2 separate regions of the Homo sapiens genome follow, and region 1 is linked to region 2. Evidence: promoter capture Hi-C in human tissues and cell types (Jung and others, 2019). All regions are on one chromosome and are shown on one strand. Each heading gives the region's core, a stretch centred on a gene start or on the middle of the fragment in contact. The rest is flanking DNA. Distances are from core to core; before and after follow the strand shown. Region 1 has its middle 570 kb from the start of MIR4465. Region 2 holds the start of TXLNB (taxilin beta).

Evidence for each region. Contacts are between HindIII fragments. The study calls those that stand out against the background at their distance.
Region 1: a contact is called between a fragment that was not itself captured here and the fragment with the promoter of TXLNB in region 2, in 1 of the 25 tissues and cell types used here (H1 embryonic stem cells).

What each region holds. Positions count from the first base shown.
Region 1 is chr6:141,256,362-141,259,655 of GRCh38, reverse strand. No RefSeq gene overlaps it. Among named protein-coding and RNA genes, the nearest start is that of MIR4465, 570 kb to the right of the region's middle. The HindIII fragment of the contact is 9,295 bases long and covers 1-3,294 here.
Region 2 is chr6:139,290,619-139,293,645 of GRCh38, reverse strand. TXLNB (taxilin beta) reads left to right here and starts at 1,648. Exons shown (of 10, transcript NM_153235.4): 1 at 1,648-1,725. The region is part of intron 4 of LOC102723690 (a long non-coding RNA gene); the gene reads right to left. RefSeq lists enhancers at 2,424-2,673, 2,874-2,933 and a silencer at 2,520-2,814. The HindIII fragment of the contact is 6,084 bases long and covers 808-3,027 here.

The DNA.
Region 1 (3,294 bases), core at 161-2,660, 2.0 Mb before region 2:
TCTTGTTCCTAATCTTAGGGATCTGAAGGATCTCAGGAAAGCATACAGTCTTTCACCATTAAGGATGATGTTATCTATGGGTTATCGTAGGTCTAATTAATCAGAATAACGTTCCTTCTGATTTTAGTTTGTTGAGTGTTTCTATTAAGAAATGGTTTTGGATTTTTTTCAAATGCTTATCGTCTATCCATTTAGATGATCATGTGGTTTTTCTTTTTAATACCATTGATATTGTACATTACATTAATTTGCTTTGGAATAAGTAAAACAACTTTAAATTTCTGGAATAAATTCATTTATTTATAATGTTGCATAACACTTTTTATATGTGGTTGGATTCAGTTTGCTTGTATGCTGTCCAGGATTTTTGCATCTGTTTTCATACTTAACAGTCTGTAATTTTCTTGCGATGCCTTTGTTTGGTTTTAGTATCGGGGTCAGGGTATTACTGGCCTTACAAAATAAGGTGGTACTCCCCTCTTGTAATTTTGGAAGAGTTTGAAAAGAATTTTTAATTCTTTAAACTTTTGGTAGAATTCACCAGTGAAGTCATCTGAGGCTGGCATATTCTTGTGTGGATAGATTCAGATTACTAATTCAACTTATTTATTTGTCATAGGCCCACACAAATTATTTTTGTTTTGTTTTATTTTGTTTTGTTTTGTTTTTGAGACAGAGTCTTGCTCTGTCAACCAGGCTGGAGTGCAGTGGTGCTATCTCAGCTCACTGCAACCTCCACTTCCTGGGTTCAAGCGATTCTCCTGCTTCAGTCTCCAGAGTAGCTGGGACAACAGACATGTCCCACCATGCCCGGCTAATTTTTGAATTTTTAGTAGAGACGGGGTTTTACCATGTTGGCTAGGCTGGTCTTGAACTCCTGGTCTCAGGTCATTTGCCCGCCTTGGCCTTCCAAAGTGCTGGTATTGCAGATGTGAGCCACTGCATCCGGCCCAACTTGTATTTTTAATCTGAAATCATTTTTGGTAGTTTGCATCTTTCTGGGAATTTTTCCATTTTAACAAAGTTGTGTAATTAGTTGGCATTCAAATATTCATAGTACTCTTTTACAACATTTTTTAATTTCCTTGAAGTTGGTTATAATGTTGCCTTCCTCATTTCTAATTCTAGTAACTTGAGAATTTTCTCTTCTTAATTGATCTACCTGGATAAGGTTTGTCGATTTGTTAATCTTTTTCTAAAACTCAGTTTTCAATGCAATTGATTTTCTCTATTGTTTTTCTATTATTTATTTCATTAATTCCCTCTCTAACTTTTATTCTATTATGCTTTCTGCTTGCTTTACATAGTTTTCTCTTTTTTCCCCAGTGTCCTCATCATGCAAGTGGAAAATTGATTTCAGATCTTTATTCTTTCTAAATAAAGGTATATACAGTTATTAATCTCCCTGTAATCACTGCTTTAGTTACATACTATATGTTTGAACATGTTGTTCCTTTATTTTCATTAATCTGATAGTAATTTCAAAATTTCCTTTTGGTTTCATCTTCGACTCATTGATTATTTAGGAATATGTGGTTTTATTTTCACATGTTTGTGAGTTTTCCAAATTTCTTTCTCTAATTGATATCTAATTTTATTCAGCTGTGGTTAGAGAAGACACTTCACATCATTTGTAGTTTTTAAAATCTATTGAAGTTTATTTTGGGCCAAGCACATGGTCTACCTTGTGAGTTTTCAACTTTACTGTAGAAAAACTTGTGTTCTGTTGCTCTTAGGTGGCAGGTTTCACAGACATTTATGGTGTTCTAAAGATGACCAGCTGGTTTATAATGTTGTTCAAGTCATTTATTTTCTTGTTAATCTTTACTAGATTTTTTATCCATTATTGAAATTGAGGTATTGAACTTTCCAATTATTGCTGTCAAACTGTGTCTTTACTGCTTTTTTTTTGTTTCATGTATTTTGGCACTCTGTTTTTAATTGCATATATGTTTACAATTGTTATATCCTTGTGGTAGATGTTTTTATTATTATAAAATATTCCTCTTTATCTCTCTAGAAACTTTTTAAAATTCGTTTTTAAGGCTTTTTATCTGATGTCAGTAGAGCCACTATATCTTTCTTGTGATGGCAGTTTGCATGAAATATCTTTTCCAGCTTTCACTTTCACACTATTGCATCTTTGAATCAGAAATATGTCCCTTGTAGACAGAATATGATTGATGCTTATTTTGTGTTGTTTTGCTTTAATCCTGTCTGGCAATTTGCCTTTTCATTGGATTGTTTAATGTATTCCAATTTAATATTACTGTGGATATAATTGGATTTACATCTGCCATTTTACCTTTTGTTCTCTATATGTGGCATGTCATTTTTGTTCCTCTATCCTCCTTTAATATCTTTTTTTGCTTTAAGTGAATATTTTATAATGTAACACTTTAATAATTTTAATTATTTACTCTTTCAGTGTTTACCTTAATGGTTGACCTAGGACTTGCCCCCTATATCTTTTCAGCTACATCTTTATATTCACATTCACTTAATTTCAGTGAAATATGTAAATTTTTCCCCCATATAGCTCTATTCACTTTGGGTATTATTGTTCTACAAATTATATCTATGAATATTATGCATTCAACAATACAGTTATAATTATTACTTTACATGATTTTGTCATTCAAAGAAGAAATAAGTAAGTATAATACATATTTATAGATTTCATTATTTTAATTTTCTTATATATCATTTCTGATTCTCTTCATGTGTTCCTTTACTATGAGTTACTGTCTTCAGTCTACTTGAAGTTCTTTGAGATTTTTAAATGCATAGATTAATATTTTTCAAAAAATTTGAGACATTCCAGCAATTATTTATTTTAATTTCTTTTTCTGATTCTTTATTTCTCTCTACCCACACTGATTCTCCTACTATATGTATATTAATGCACTTAAAGGTGACCAACATGTCTCTGAAGCTCTGTTAAATTTTTTTCACTAATTTCTCTGGTTTTCTGATTGCATAATTTCCATTGGTCAATATTCAAGTTCACTAAGTCTTCTGCCAGTTTATGTCTACTATTAAGGCCTTCTAGTAAATTTTTCATTTTAGTTATTTTACACTTTAACTCCAGAATATCCATTTGGTTCTTTTTATACTGTCTATCTCTTTATTGATATTCTTTATTTAATGAGATACCATTACCGTAACTTCCTTTATGTACTTTATCATTGTTTTCTTTACTTCTTCAAACAAGTTTATAATGGAAATTTTTGTTAATCCCCAAATCTGGATCACTTTCACGGGCAGCTTATGTTGCCTGTTGTTTTACCCCAG
Region 2 (3,027 bases), core at 399-2,898:
TTATCACAAATTTAGCAGCTTAAAAATAACATAAGTTTGCTATTTTATATTTCTGGAGGTCGGAAATCCAAAACGAATTTCTTTGATCTAAGATCAATGTCGCAGGATTGCATCCCTCTGGAGGCTCTAGAGTATAATCTGTTTCCTTGCCTTTCCCAGCTTCTAGAAGCTTCCTGACCTATGCTGAGGTCATCAAATCTCCTTTTCTGCCTCCAATCCTACTGCCTTCCTCCCTCATTTATAAAGACCCTTATGAGGCTGAGTGCAATGGCTCACGCTTATAATCCCAGCACTTTGGGAGGCCGAGGTGGGCGGATCATGAGGTCAGGAGTTCGAGACCAGCCTAGCCAACACAGCGAAACCCCGTCTCTACTAAAAATACAAAAATTAGCTGGATGTGGTGGCAGGCGCCTGTAATCCCAGCTACTTGGGAGGCTGAGGGAGGAGAATCGCTTGAACCCGGGAGGTTGCAGTGAGCTGAGATTGCACCACTGCACTCCAGCCTGAGTGACAGAGCGAGACTCTGTCTCAATAAATAAATAAATAAATACCCTTATGATTACATTGAACCCACCCAGTAGTTCAAGATAACCTCCCTACCTCAGGATCCTTCCTCACATCTGCAAAGTCTCTTTTGTCATGTAAAGAAACATATTCACAGGTTCCAGGGAGTAGGACGTGGAGATCTTTTGGGTGGCATTATTCTGCCTCCCACAAGGGATGCCACTATGCCTAGCCTGTCCCCAGAGCAGAAACCGATGGAGGAATCTGCTTTGGAAGTATGGGAACACAAGCTCCAGAAAGAAAAATAAAAGGCAAATGGATGTAAATTAATAGACAGGCATTTTATGGTGAATCAGAAGGAATTTCTTTTTCTGAGGAGGATCAAGGAGCATGTTGAGGATTTACAAAATGTGGGAAAGCCACCAACTAAGGAAGAAAAAGCAGACTGCTTCCCTGAGGGTTTGTTTGAGATGGGAAGAGTTACCTGGGAAAGACTGTGCTCCAAGGTCACACCAATTACCACGTGCATGAAGATTATACTCAGTTCAGCTCCAAAATCACCATCTACATGTTTATTTCAAACTTTGCAAACAAACCAAACAATGACATCAGAATTAAAATGGTTCCACCACCTCCCTGTTCTTATGCCATTGTTTTTCTTTTTCCATGATTCCTGTAAGAAACCTGACACTAATTAAGCTAGTGCAAGAAGAAGAAGAAAAAGAAGATGAATCTTCCACCACACTGGAGATAACCCAAGAAGTAAGAAAAACTGATCTCTACCCAAAAAGGACAACAATGGTGAAAGACTGCATTTGCAACGGGGGTAATATACTCAGAGTTTAAATTTCCGAAAGGACAAACAAAACATGGAGAGTCTAATGAGATCTTCCAGCTGCTTCTCTCTGCTAAGGTATTTCCCCTGGCAACAGCTAGGGAAGCTTGGGTGTATTTTCCCCTTGCTGTGTCATATGATGTTCCTTTCCCTACCCCCACCTCCTCCAGACTGCTGCCTCCATCAGTGCCTGTGGCGTGTGTGTGTGTGTGTGTGTGTGCGCGCGCGTGCGTGCACGTGTGTATGTGTGTGTGTGTGTATTGGGTTTCTCTCTCCCTTGTAAGAACACAGCCAGCCCGCCCTCTCCTGCTGTTGCTGCAGCTCTGACTTGCTTTTTCCTGCCTCCTTCCTCTCCTCTCTCTTCTTGCTTAGCTTCTTGCCTTCTGGTAAGTATGACAAACACTCCCCCAAGCCCTGTGAGAAGGTATAGGGTGCGGTTTGTGGTGTTCGAAACTTGCAACTTTGAGATTGCCAGTGAACTGTTGGAGAACTTTTCATTGTTGTATTTATAAATAAAATGTGTTGCTTAGGGAGGGATGTGTCTGTGATAGTCATCTGGAATAGCCAACACAAGTGAAAAGTTCTCTCCCTGGGGAGGGGAAAATAAGGCAATAAAGTTTATATAAGATAAAAGTTAGAAATAATTTCTTTGCCACATAATATAAAATGGATGATTGAAAAGTAACAAAGTTCTCTGACTTTGTTTTTTTCCCTCTTGTTAACTTGTCTTGAGGCTACTTTTGGGAATTGAATTGTCCTGGGCTTTATAATGACTGTTCTGTTTTAAAGTAAATGTGGAACAGGAGTTTAAAGAATAGCCATGGAATTAAGAATTTAAAAAATCAATGATTGTGGCATCTCATGAAGAATAAATCAAATACAAACAGCCACTTGCATTTAGACTAACCGAAGTAAAACTCCTATGGACAGCTTATCTTAAATTAATTATTTTGAAGTTCATTTTACTTGAGATTTTATTTCATCCTAAGATAGTCTCCCCGACTTTAAAACCCATGTATGGATTTAAGCCACTAAATGTTTACTGTTTTCAATTTGACTGAAAAACGATTCTCTTGATTTTCAAGGATGAAGTGCTAAACGGCATGACTCATTTTAGAATAGCTTAAAATAACTTCTGGCTGGACAGCAGGTGCCGTGTGTCTTTCTCCGTGTTCAGGGGAGGCCTAAGTTATATATAGATGAGTGCAATCAACAAGTGAGGTCAGGAAAAGAAATCCCAGTGATGAAAATAATGAAACTGCTGCATTATTTGATAATCAAGTTGGTGAATTCAAACCAGTGAAAGAAAAAAAGTACTTCCTCTAAGTTATGAGTGTTTGGTGAGCATCACAAGTCAGTGGCAACATCTGTGTGTTGAATTTTCTGTTCTTGTTGGTGTCTGAGCATTCAATTGACATCTACTGCCCTGAGAACAGGAAAAGGAAGCTGTGCAGTTGTAGAACAGTATGCTTTTGTTTTCACTTTCATGTTACCACAACAGCAAAACCTGTGAATTATGAGGATCTTGCCACATTTTTATGCTGCTATTTAGCAGCATCACTGTTAAATATTATTTACAAATAAAATGCACCATAACTTAAAGGCCTAAACCAAATCTATTGCAACTCTAGAAGTGGTAATAGTCAGAAACCCTGGAATCTCTGACTCAGTACCATCTCTCACCCTTT